2 separate regions of the Homo sapiens genome follow, and region 2 is linked to region 1. Evidence: promoter capture Hi-C in 16 types of primary human blood cells and fetal thymus (Javierre and others, 2016). All regions are on one chromosome and are shown on one strand. Each heading gives the region's core, a stretch centred on a gene start or on the middle of the fragment in contact. The rest is flanking DNA. Distances are from core to core; before and after follow the strand shown. Region 1 holds the start of EIF3M (eukaryotic translation initiation factor 3 subunit M). Region 2 holds the start of COMMD9 (COMM domain containing 9).

Region 1 (3,040 bases), core at 540-3,039:
GAACACATCCATAACCCCCAAAAACTTCCTCAAGCCCCTCTGTATCCATCTTTCCCCCCGCCTTACCCAATCCCTGCCCCCAGGCAACAGCAATCTATAATGCTGTCATTATAGTTTCTACTTTCTAGAGTTTTATATAAATGGAATCATACAGTATGATGATTAACTGAACAAAATTATTTTGAATTATTTTGGGATTGTCAACTAAAGAAAAAAAATCAAGCTTTTATTTTAAGAGATGGAGTCTCACTCACTTTGTCACCCAGGCTGAAGAGACTGAAAAAAAAAAAAGATTCATCTGTGTTTTTGCATGTATCAATAATTCATCCTTTTTTGTTGCACAGCAGTATTCCATTAAGCAGATGTATAACAATTTTTTGATCCACTTCATTCATCTATTGATGAACATTTGGGTTGTTTCCTTTTTTTTGGCTATTGAAAATAAAGTGTTAACTTTTTGGAAACTGTCTCCTGAAAAAGCTAAACATAAATTTACTAAATAAGCCACTGATTCCTCTCATAGGTACATACCTAAGAGAAATATACGTACACACAAAATCTTGTGCACTAACGTTCATGGAAACATTATTCATAATAGCCAAAAAATGGAGACAACCCAAGTGTCCACCAACTGATGAACAAATCAACACAATGTGGTATATCCATAACAATGCAATATTATAAGCAATAAATAGGAATATAGGAGGGATACATGGACGAACCTTGAAAACATTATGCTAAATGAAGTAAGTCTGACTTAGGCCACCGTGTATTTTGTGATTCCACTTACATGAAATGTCCAGAAAAGGCAAATTCATAGAGACAAAATGTAGTGTTTGCCAGGGGCTGGAGAGAGGTGGGGCCGGGGGTCTGGGGAGTGATTGCTGATGGGTAGTTTCTTTTGTAGGTGATGAAAATGTTCTAAAATTAAATAGTAGTGATGGTTGTGCAACTCTGAAAATACTAAAAACTACTGAATTGTGTATTTATTTTATGAGACGGAGTCTCGCTCTGTCGCCCAGGCTGGAATGCAGTGGCATGATCTGGGCTTACTGCAACCTCCTTCTCCCAGGTTGAAGTGATTCTCCTGCCTCAGCCTCCCGAGTAGCTGGGATTACAGGCGCGCACCACTATGCCCCGGTAATTTTTGTATTTTTAGTAGAGACGGGGTTTTGCCATGTTGCCCAGGCTGGTCTCCAGTTCCTGACCCCAAGTGATCCGCCCACCTCGGCCTCCCACAGTGCTGGGATTACAGGCGTGAGATCCACTGCGCCCAGCCAAAGCTGCTATTTTTTAAAAGCGGCAATGAACATTCTTGTACAAGTCTTTGTACGGACATACAGTTTGGGTAGAAGAATAGCTGGGTCATATGCTGGGTGGATACTGAACTTTTTCAGAAACTGCCGCTCCTCTGCAAAGTGACTGCACCATTTTATGTTCCCAACAGCAGTACAGGAGAGTTTCAGGTCTACACAAACCCATCCATACTTGGTAAGACCCAACAAGCTTAACATTTCAAGGGAAGGTGGACTTAGGGAGGCGCCAGCGGGAGGCAACATCAATGCAGTTAGCTACACGGGCCTGAAAACTGGAGGCCGCGACAAGCGTCGCTGAGTGGAGGCCCAGTAAGTCCCACCCACTAGGCCAGCCCGAGCGCGTCTGCCACGCCCTGCTGCATTCCGCGGCGAGAGCGCGCGATAGGATTGGCTCTCAAGGCCCCGCCCCAACAGGTCGCCGCTCAGGGTGACCCGGAAGCAGTTGCGCCAGCAGCGTCGCGCGGCCCAGTTCCCTTTTCCGGTCGGCGTGGTCTTGCGAGTGGAGTGTCCGCTGTGCCCGGGCCTGCACCATGAGCGTCCCGGCCTTCATCGACATCAGTGAAGAAGATCAGGTGTGCTTCGGTCTACGGGTGCCGCCACGGTGGGGTGGGGGATGTCCTAGTAGCGCAAGGGACCGCTGCCGAGCCTGGGCCGGGCGGCCGGGGCTGACACCCGCAGCTGTTCTACACGCGAGAATGGGGAGGCCGGTGGCTGGGGCGCGCGTTCCTGGCCTCGATTCGCACCAGCTCGCCGGCCGGCGGTCCCAGCGCGGGGCCCGACGCTTCACCGCCAGCTCCCTGGTCGGCGTCGGGACTCATTTCTGACGACATAGTACTTTTAGACTGATGAGGAATGATGTCTGCTTCCGTCCGTCAAATGCAGCCACATTCGGAGTGGGAGGTGGTGAATCTGTAGTTAGCATAAGCAGGGTAGGGAAAAGTAATTTTGTGCTAAAGATCAAAATGCCGGGCCGGGCGCGGTGGCTCACGCCTTTAATCCCAGCACTTTGGGACGCCGAGGCGGGCAGATCACGAGGTCAGGAGATCGAGACCATCCTGGCTAACACGGTGAAACCCTGTCTCTATTAAAAATACAAAAAAATTACCCGGGCGCGGTGGCACGCGCCTGTAGTCCCAGCTACTGCCGAGGCTGAGGCAAGAGAATCGCTTGAACCCGCGAGGCGGAGTTTGCAGTGAGCCAAGATCGCGCCACTGCACTCCAGCCTGGGCGACAGAGCGAGAGTCCCTCTCAAAAAAAAAAAAAAAAAAAAAGATCAAAACGCCCGTATTACTGTGCGATCACAGGCGAAGACGACCCGTATTTTACACTTGCTTTCTATTCCTACTTGTATGAGGGTGAGAGTTGTTCTGTACCCCGGAAGTATGGTATCAGTTCAGCTCTTAAATTCTGTGAGGCATACACCTGATGGACCATCCTGATATTTTTAAATTTCCCGTTTGGCGTTTGCTCTTTGGTATACAGGGCTGATGGTTCTCATTTTCCCCATAACAAAAGTTTAACCTTATTTGGTAGGAGTTGAACACGACATCGTATTCTTTAAGTTAATTTTGTATTGCTGAAAATTCTTCTGTGAAGTCCTAACTTTGTCGTTTTATTTCTGTTACTCCACTAACACGGAAGTAACTTCCAAATGATTGGATATCATAAACTTCGCATGGAAGTTTACTTGTCTAAGACAACTTACAGAATTGCGGGAGTGAGTT
Region 2 (3,054 bases), core at 89-2,588, 3.7 Mb after region 1:
TTGCCAGTCCCAGCTCTGTTACTTCATTTATTAATTCATTTAACAGCTATTTACTGAGCACGTGCTGTGTGCCAGGTATTATTGTTCTACTTATTGGGCATTAACACTTGTGAACAAAAGAGTAGATCCCCTTAGGAGTGGAGAATGCTAATGAACACTGAGAAGGCAATTAAAAAATAAATAAGTAAAACAAAACAGAGACTATTACATGGACCGATGATGATGATGTGCCATAAATTGAGGAGAGTAACTCAACCCTCTTCACCTGGTGTTTAAAAAAAAAAAAAAAGAGAGAGGAAGAAAGGAAAGGTCCCTGATGGATCTTACATTCTTATGAGACAGACGGACAACGGGCAAATAGCTAGCGACAAGTTCTACGAAGGAAAATAAAGCTGCCCTTTCTCCTACAGGGCAAATCATAAGTTAAATAATTCCGGCCAGGCGCGGTGGCTCACGCCTGTAATCCCAACACTTTGGAAGGCGGAGGCGAGTGGATCACGCGGTCAGGAGTTCAAGACCAGCCTGGCCAAGATGTTGAAACCCCGTCTCTACTAAAAATACATAAATTTGCCAGGCTTGGTGGCGGGCGCCTGTAATCCCAGCTACTCGGAAGGCTGAGGCATAGAATTGCTTGAACTCGGGGGGCGGAGGTTGCAGTGAGCCGAGATTGCGCCACTGCTCTCCAGCCTGGACAACAGAGCTAGACTCCGTCTCAAATAATAATAATACTTCATTTGAGCTTTACAAAGCCCTATGAAGTAGGTCCCTTTCAACCTCACAACTTTTCAAATGATTATCAGGAGTATGTCCTGCCCCTTTCGCAGGTCAAAGAGAGTAGGGAAAATCTGGACCTCAAGGGAACATTGAACGCACAGGTCATTCGGAGGGCTGGGCAGACGCAGTAGGAGATAATTTCTTAATTGTGCAATGCAGGAGGGGCTACGGGATGAAATGGGGAACTGACAACGTGGGTCTAGCAATTACCACTTCAATGCACCAATACCGAAAACCAATCCCAAAGACTAATAGCAGGAGGTTGTACTGCGCCTTCATGCCCATTATTTTATTTTTTTTTATCTTACGTTCCTGTCAAAACGATATTTTGTTCTTACTTTTTAAAAGCTCAGAAAGACGCAACGATTTGCCTGGGATCACACAGAGAACAAGCAGCAGAGTTGTGGCTCCAAACCAGGGTCAATTTGTTCCCAATTCCTGCTCCGTCTAAAGTCTCGGAGACAAAGGGCCACCTCACGCTGTCCCCACCCCTTCGACTTACCTTGAGCAGGCTCTGGAGTGCTGCAAAATGCTCCGCTGTCAGGGCAGCCATCTTGCCGAAGTCACATGACCGTGGCACCCAGGGAAGCGAGGTCACGTGGCTGTCGCTGTTGTCGCGGGGCCTGCCGGGGGCTGTAGTCCTTCAGAGTGGGGGAAGGCGTTTCGGTTGTGGTGCTGCGGCAGTGAGCGCGGATCAAGACGGACGCGGCGGCTGGATGACTAAACCCCGAGACTCTAGAACCAAAGGACTAGGGGGACCAGGGCGGAGGATGGTTTACTCGGGGAGGAAATTGGCTTGACTTGTCTACTTACCAAGTCAGGGAAACAGGTTTTCCCTTGACCCATGTGGGTGGGCTGGCGCACTTGGGGAATGCACCTGCAAGCTTGGCAGGCGCCTTGGAAACGTAGTTGTTCAGGAGTGATCGGCGTACCAGTGTTTGGAATGAAAATGAGGCTGTGCATATCGGGCTTCTTGGAATTGACACACACACATGCACACATCCTGTCTTGAATGTAAAATTACTTCTGCGTATATAGTTTTTCAGCCTATGTAGTAGGTTGGAGCTGGTATTATTAGTATTATCCAGATTGGGAAATAATCATTTAGGGTTTTTAGTAACTTTCCCATAGTCATAGAGAAGATCTGATTACAAGAGCAGGTGAGGAAGTGTTTGGGAGAGGGGACAAGAGAGGAATGGAATGAAAGCTACTACCTAGCTAGGTTCTTGTTATACGGGGGTGAGATGGGGGAGGAGGTTAATGGAAATGATTTAGTTCATTTATTCAAAAAGGTAATTATAATGAATATAATTGTAAAGAGTGATTTTGCACTGGCAGTACTGGACTCTGATTTGCCCTGTTCTCAGAGACCGTACATCAAAACAGACATTTCCTTTATCTACCTTTAGTATTTGGGTGGCTCTTTTCTTTTCCTACCCTCCACTTTTTTTTAAGCAAATTCCAGCTCAAAAAATGGGTTCTGATATATTCGAGCTTAAGAAAGAATGCCCATTTGTGAAATTCCAGAAATTGGTAAGCTGCTAAGGACATTTGTTCCTTTGTCTCCTCTCCTCCCCCTTCCCCTTCCCCGACTCCATTTTCTGTGGGGATGTTGTCAAGGCCCAGGAAACCAAAAATCAAATTGTCTAAGGAGGAACCCATTCCTGGATTAGAAGATTTTAGAACCATTTTGTCACAGGGTCCTGATTCTAGCTCTCTTTCTTGGCCTCTCTTTTCCATGAACCCTCATGGCCTGATTCCTGGTTTCTGTTATAACTCAATGTAGGTTCTAGGTTTAACTCCTGCCTGTATCTATAGGGCTGGGCCCATTGTCTTGGGTTAATTGAATATTTGTTAAATAAACAACCACCCAAAAAAGTGATTAGACTAAGATGAAATTTTGTGACTTATTTGAGGATATTGCCTTGGTATTTGCAGGATTGTGCCTTCTTGTCTTACTTTAGAGTAATGAGGAGTGTGGTCACCAGCCTTCAAGATGGCCCTCAATGATCCCAGCCTCCTGGTGTTCACAACCTAGTGTAGACACCTCCCACCATGTACCAGGATTGGTATGCATGACCAATAGCAAATGGTGGGTGTGAATGGCATATCACTTCTGAGATTAGGTTATACAAGACTGCACCAAAAAACTAACAAAAAGACTGAAGTTCCTGTCTCCTGGCTTGGGTGCTCTCTCATGTGCCCTGCTCTCTTTCACTTGAATCCTTTGCTCTGGGGAAAGCAAACTGCCATGTTGTAAACAGTCCTACAGAGAGGCCT

What was found. The method cuts DNA at HindIII sites, captures the fragments that hold promoters and counts their contacts. A CHiCAGO score of 5 or more calls a contact.
Region 2: the fragment with the promoter of COMMD9 here is called in contact with the fragment with the promoter of EIF3M in region 1 in 1 of 17 cell types (non-activated CD4 T cells); the score reaches 6.1 in non-activated CD4 T cells.

The regions. Positions count from the first base shown.
Region 1 is chr11:32,582,042-32,585,081 of GRCh38, forward strand. EIF3M (eukaryotic translation initiation factor 3 subunit M) reads left to right here and starts at 1,790. Exons shown (of 11, transcript NM_006360.6): 1 at 1,790-1,888. The coding sequence starts at 1,847. RefSeq lists enhancers at 1,501-2,153, 1,796-1,945 and a silencer at 1,576-1,635. The HindIII fragment of the contact is 5,112 bases long and covers 1,505-3,040 here.
Region 2 is chr11:36,288,086-36,291,139 of GRCh38, forward strand. It overlaps COMMD9 (COMM domain containing 9), which reads right to left and starts at 1,339. Exons shown (of 6, transcript NM_014186.4): 1 at 1,277-1,339. The coding sequence starts at 1,327. RefSeq lists enhancers at 701-1,403, 1,240-1,489. The HindIII fragment of the contact is 8,947 bases long and covers 1-1,656 here.